Linked DNA regions of Homo sapiens: region 1 is linked to region 2. The links are contacts of gene promoters, found by promoter capture Hi-C in blood cells and fetal thymus (Javierre and others, 2016). All regions are on one chromosome and are shown on one strand. Each heading gives the region's core, a stretch centred on a gene start or on the middle of the fragment in contact. The rest is flanking DNA. Distances are from core to core; before and after follow the strand shown. Region 1 has its middle 3.6 kb from the start of LINC02318. Region 2 holds the start of TCL1A (TCL1 family AKT coactivator A).

The links. Contacts are between HindIII fragments. The CHiCAGO score rates a contact against its expected background, and 5 or more counts as called.
Region 1: a fragment that was not itself captured here is called in contact with the fragment with the promoter of TCL1A in region 2 in 1 of 17 cell types (naive B cells); the score reaches 5.3 in naive B cells.

What each region holds. Positions count from the first base shown.
Region 1 is chr14:95,568,283-95,571,595 of GRCh38, reverse strand. No RefSeq gene overlaps it. Among named protein-coding and RNA genes, the nearest start is that of LINC02318, 3.6 kb to the left of the region's middle. The HindIII fragment of the contact is 1,647 bases long and covers 637-2,283 here.
Region 2 is chr14:95,712,759-95,715,675 of GRCh38, reverse strand. It overlaps TCL1A (TCL1 family AKT coactivator A), which reads left to right and starts at 1,551. Exons shown (of 4, transcript NM_021966.3): 1 at 1,551-1,729. The coding sequence starts at 1,610. It overlaps LOC107984703 (a long non-coding RNA gene), which reads right to left and starts at 193. Exons shown (of 3, transcript NR_148060.1): 1 at 1-193. RefSeq lists a silencer at 1,297-1,536 and an enhancer at 1,767-1,816. The HindIII fragment of the contact is 7,267 bases long and covers 1-2,917 here.

The sequences.
Region 1 (3,313 bases), core at 211-2,710, 140 kb after region 2:
AGGCTAAATAATTCACCTAAGGCTCCAGAGGCAAAAAGTGCCAGAGCTTGGTTTCGAATCCAAGCAGTCTGGCTGAAGAGTCTCCCCTCTGAGCCATTCCTTTCTGCTAGGGTTGGCAATCTATGGTCTGTGGGCCAAATTCAACACACTGAGTGTTTTTGTAAATGTTTATTTGAACACAGCCATGCCCATTTGTTTACGTATTGGCTATGGCTGTTTTTGCACTATACAAGCAAAGTTGAGGCTGGGCACAGTGGCTCACGCCTGTAATCACAGCACTTTGGGAGGCCAAGGTGGGAATAGCACTTGAGCTCAGGAGTTTGAGACCAGCCTAGACAACATAGCAAAACCCCATCTCTACTAAAAATACAAAAATTAGTCAGACGTGGTGGCACATGCCTGTAATCCCAGCTACTTGGGTGGCTGAGGCAGGAGAGTTGCTTGAACCTGGGAGGCAGAGGCTGCAGTAAGCTGAGATCACGCCACTGCACTCCAGCCTGGGTGAGAGAGTGAGACTCTGTCTCCAAAAAAACAAAGAAAAAAAGAAAAGAAAAAGAATGTTGAATAGTTGCAATAGAGAACGTATGGCCAGCAAAGCTGAAAATATTTATGCTTTTATGCTTTACAGAAAAAGCTTCCAACTCCTGTACCATATTGACTACATTAGAGGAGATAAAATATGTAAAATGATTGGCACAGTTTCTGACCCAGAACAAATACTCAAAAAATACTATTCATGTTGCTGTTATTATATAACTGATAAAATTGGCATTGGCGTTAGAATCAGCACCAGCATCAGATCAGCATCACTATCAGCGTCTCACCAGACTGCCTTTCAAAGGAGAAGCAGAAATCCCACTGCCAGGGTGAGGCTGATGGAGAGATGAGCAAATCCTCCCAGAGTCCTCAGCAAGTTATTTTCCCTTTGCCAGGTGCCAGCAGAGAGGTGAGGCTGGTGACCACTGGCTCTCAGAAGGTGAAAGCGGAAGCATCTCCTGCCAAACGCCGCCCATGTTTTGCAGGGCTGAGGACAGGCTGAAATTGCGGCTATTTTTCAATGCCTTGAATGTGTGTAGGTGAGCATAAATTAAAAAGAAAATCTGTTGACAAAATGATTCTAAAGTTCATCGGGAAGAGGAAGCTGGAAAGATAACCAAGAAAAGTTAGAAAAAAGAAATGAAGCCTGGGTGCGGTGGCTCATGCCTGTAATCCTGGCACTTTGGGAGGCCGAGGCGGGCAGATCACTTGAGGTCAGGAGTGCAAGACCAGCCTGGCCAACATGGTGAAACCCTGTCTCTACTAAAAATACAAAAATTAGTCTGGTGTGGTGGTGCCTACCTATAATCCTAGCCCTTTGGGAGGCCGAGGTGGGTGTATCACTTGAGGTCAGCCTGGCCAACATGGTGATACCCTGTCTCCACTAAAAATACAAAAATTAGCCAGGTGTGATGGCAGATGCCTGTAATCCCGGCTACCAGTTACTTGGGAGGCTGAGGCAGGAGAATGGCTTGAACACGGGAGGTTGCAGTGAGCTGAGATCGCGCCACTTCACTCCAGCCTGGGCAACATAGCAAGACTCCATCTCAAAAACAAACAATCTAACAACAACAACAACAAAAATGAAAAACATGAAAGAGGAAAGATACTCTGCCAGGATTTTTAGATTATGGTATCTCATTTAATCCTTACAGTAACTCCATCAGGGAGAGACTGTTATTAAACCCACTTTAGAGATGAGAAGGCAGAGATTCAGAGATGACAAAGAATCTCCAAGGATTATAGATTTAGGTACATCTATATCTATACATATACCTATACCTATGCCTACACCTAAATCTATGCTCACACCTGTACCTAGATAAATGGTTTGAGAATGCATTTGATTGCAGGTGTTTTTTTCAATCAGATCCTAGATCTCTGCCTTCCGCCTGATGCCTCCGGAAACGCTGGTCCCCTGGGAAATGCCATGAAAGTGGTTAGTGTGATTACCTCAGTTTGCTAAGAAAACCCATCATACTGCCAGCACACTGTGATCTCTGGCTATCAAAAATGGTTGATTTGAAGACACCTGTATTTTTTTGGAAATGTTGATATTTAACAAATAACCCCCAGCCCCCTAAATGTTGATATTTAGAAAATAATTCCCCAAACTTATTTTACACACATACAGTGAGATAGAGAGAGAGAGGAGAGAGAGAGAGAGAGAGAGAGAGAGAGAAGAGAGAGAGAAAAGTTGTTTAATGCCCAGGATCAAGAAGGCCTGCATATATTCAGCAAGAAGCTTTATCATCCCAAACCCGAGGCTGAGCCATGATTATTACATTCTAAGCCTCTTCTTCTCCCTGCTATTTATTACTAGGGCTTAGAGAATCTCAAACTGTTGGGTCAGTTATATGATCCAAATGGCAGGACTGATCAAAGACTCCTACAACCTGTATGCTAATTAAAATCTATTTCACACACCAGTGGTGATTAGAAACTGCAAGGGCTTCCAAGCCCCTCTCACATGACTAGACTTGATGAATAATTCCTGATAGTGGCTAATAGCACTTGGCCCCCACAGTCTGCATACTAGATGGGTTTCAAGTCATCTTAAAAAAAGATGCCGGGGTTTATCTCTTAGAATTTCTCTCCCCACTCCCCACTGTGACCACACAAATGGAAACACCACTCCATTGCACGTGCATTTGTACAGTGTTGATGAACTCTGTCATTAGGCCAAGGAACCCTAGGCAATAGAAAAGTGTGAAACCCACCCATAACTGGCCCAGGGAATGCCAGCTCCGAGGCCACGGTGCAGAAAGTTGGACTTTATACTCAGCTTCTGCTTCTCCCTTATCTCAACATCTCCAATTCTATCTTTTAATTATGTCTCACACCCTTTGTCTTCACCACCACAGTCATCATTACACTCAAATAACTTAAATGCATGGCAGAGTAGGAAAAGTAGAATAAGTAACATCTTAGGTATTCAATTTGCTTGATATCTCCGATGTGCTAAGTACATTATATATAAGCTCTCTTTTTATTCTTTTCACAACTCTATAGGCAGAAAGATATTATTACCACCATATTACAGATGGTGAAACTGAGCCTCAGAGATGTGAAATAACAGTTCCATGGTCCCCAGAGCTAGAATCAAAACTTAAATCTGAGTTTTCTATTCAAAGTCCAATATTTGGACTCAATCCAATAATATTTTTGAGCATCCACTGTGTGCTAAATATTCTCCCAGGTACTGGGAAAACAGCAATGAACAACAACAAAATGGCTTGTCCAACTTTCACCTCTGTATAGAATGCAGTAGGTCACA
Region 2 (2,917 bases), core at 302-2,801:
TTTGTGGCATTCTGGATCCTAGGGCCATTGATGAGGCTGGGTCAGTGGCCACACTGGCTCCTGGGTACCCCTTCCCTGGCCACAAAAGTCCATCCCAGCAGCACTATTTAAACTGGACTTATTTCTCACTTCACAGCTCTGGCCTGGGCTGAGACCTCCCCAACAGAGCTTATTAGCGAGCTTGTCATCTTGCTCTGTGGCTATCTAGGTCTGGAGTCAAGAGCCATTCACAGGAAAATCAGCATGAAACCTTTAAGTTTGCATATTAAATATTAACACCACTAAGGGCTACAGTGGAAAAGAGGTTTGCTGAGCTCAAGGGCCCTCACTCCACCCCCAACTTCCCTTGGCTTTTCTCTTCTATGTTGTGTTCCTGGTAAATCCCATTATGTCTCGACTACCTTAGGCCCTCTCAGCCCCTTCTTGGGAATTAGGCTCTCTGGATAGGCAAAGAGGCAGATACCCAGCTGCCAGGTGAATCAGATGTCCTCATCAGATCTCTTAATTTCCACTTTGGTGATATTTCAAAGGATCACAAATTATGTTCTTAGTGCCTGGTCAGAGAACTGGGAAAGAGCTGGAAGATGAGACACCAAACTCCATCCCATGGTGATGTTTGAACCAGGCTGGAGCTGGTTTCACATGTTTTTCATTGTGCATGACTTTCTTAATTGCCTTAGTGGGAATGCGTTACTGCAAAATAAAGTGAAATTGTTTTCCTTATTGCTTGTAATTTACAGAGGGGTGGTTTTGATCATATAAACCAGGCACTTTTCAAATCCATTGATCTTAGGGTGGAAGGAGGGATTTCTTTTTAAGTATTCATTTCGAACTATGCTTTCACTAGTAAACTCAAAGCCCAAGGGCAAAAACCCATGATTCTCCATTTTGTAATAGCTATTAGATGTCCACAGCACATCAGACCTGTGGAAAACGCATGCTTTGTGTATGGAAGAGGGAGAGGGAGCGTCAGGAGTTGTCCTTTGCCAAAAAACGTACTCTGACACTCAAAGGCACAGGCTGGTGGAGATCCAGGGAACCCGGGAAAGCCCAGGCCTAACTCAGGCCCGCGCGGGTCTCTTCTGATCCCATAAGATGAGGAGTGGGTCCTGGCTCTGGGCATCCTGGTGTCGACTGTGAGTTCCCAGCAGAGGCCCAGAGTCCCGGTCCGGCAGCCGAGGGAAGCGGGGGGGTCTTCCAGAAGAAGAAAGGGCCAAGGTCACCCCGGTGCCTCTCCAGCAGCAGCAGAGGGCGGCGGTCGGTGTCGCTGCTGGCCGGGGCCTCGAGGAAGGCGCGGGCCAGCTGGGGCCGGGTCTGCGTTCCCAGGAGCTGCCACCGTTCCAGGGAGCAAGTCAGGCCGGGACGTAGCGCCTGCGCGGGACCCTCACTTGCCACCAAGACCCCCACAAACCCCGCCCCATCCTGCCTTACGCCCCGCCCCAAGGTCGTTCTCCCGACCCGGGGTCCCGCCCCAAGGCCGTCCTCCCGCCCCGCCGCTTGGTGGCGGCCGCATGCTGCCCGGATATAAAGGGTCGGCCCCACATCCCAGGGACCAGCGAGCGGCCTTGAGAGGCTCTGGCTCTTGCTTCTTAGGCGGCCCGAGGACGCCATGGCCGAGTGCCCGACACTCGGGGAGGCAGTCACCGACCACCCGGACCGCCTGTGGGCCTGGGAGAAGTTCGTGTATTTGGACGAGAAGCAGCACGCCTGGCTGCCCTTAACCATCGAGGTACAGCCAGCTTTGGAGCGGATGGCGAGGCAGCAGGGGCAGCCCCTGGGAGCTTGGGATGCCCTAGGAAGGGCGAGGACTCAAGGAGCACTCACTATGGGGCAGGGAGGATCCCCACAGATGAAGCCACTTTGAGCCGGGCTCTGGAGGATGAATAGGAGTTCTCCAGGCAGGGAAGAAGGGTGGGAAAACCGCAAAGGAATGTCGGTCAAAGGGGTGGACCCAGTGCCTGTGGAGTGTGACTATAATGTTGACTACAGCAGGCATTTTCTGGGCTTCGGGGTCCTAATCCTTAAAAATGGGTATCTCTAAGTGACTCATCCATATGGCCGATTATCGGAATCATCTCAGGTGGGTCCCAGAAATCTGTATTTTTAAAAAGAACCCTCAACAGTTTAGGGTCAACCAGGCATAGCAAACACTGGCCTAGAGTGTGAAGTATTTTCCACTACCTCTGGGCTTTATTTAGAAAACAAATTTAACAAGTGATGTCGTAGTATAAGCGCCGGTATTGAATCAATATTGACTTTTTTAATGTGTGATGCCTTAAGATGGGTCCTTAATCCATGTTAAGTTTTTGTTAAAGAAATAGATAAGTCTTTTACAAGTATTTGGATTTACTCAATGAAAAAGAGTCAAAAAATGTTCAAACTCTCTCCAAACATACACTGAAGAAAGCATAAAAATTAAAAAATATATTAGAACACGTATGTCCAGTAGCAATCAAAAATTATTGAGTGTTGACTGTGTCTCTACAGATGGGAAACTGAGGCACAAAAATGTACATTTGTCCGAGGTAAGATTGCTAGTAGGTAATGGGGTTGGAATTCTAGGCTCTTAACCACCACAAAATCTGCATTTTTATTGGCATTTCAATTTTTTAAATATGTTTTTACTTTAAAAATCAAGTTAAATACTTACTTTTTTAAAATCAAAATTTGAAGAAATAATTTGAAGATTCAGTGGATTTCTTTTTTTAAATCTCTGAGAAATCTCTTCTTCAACGTGACACCAAAACCACGAACCAGACAGTTTTTCATAAAATCATGATACATGCTCCACAAAAAATAACCCACTAGCAAACTGTGGGACAGATTTTGCCTCACATCATTGAAAAGGCCAGTATTCTTTTTCTCTCTTTCTTTCTTTGTTGTTTTTTTTTTTTCCTGTAGATACAGGGTCTCGCTC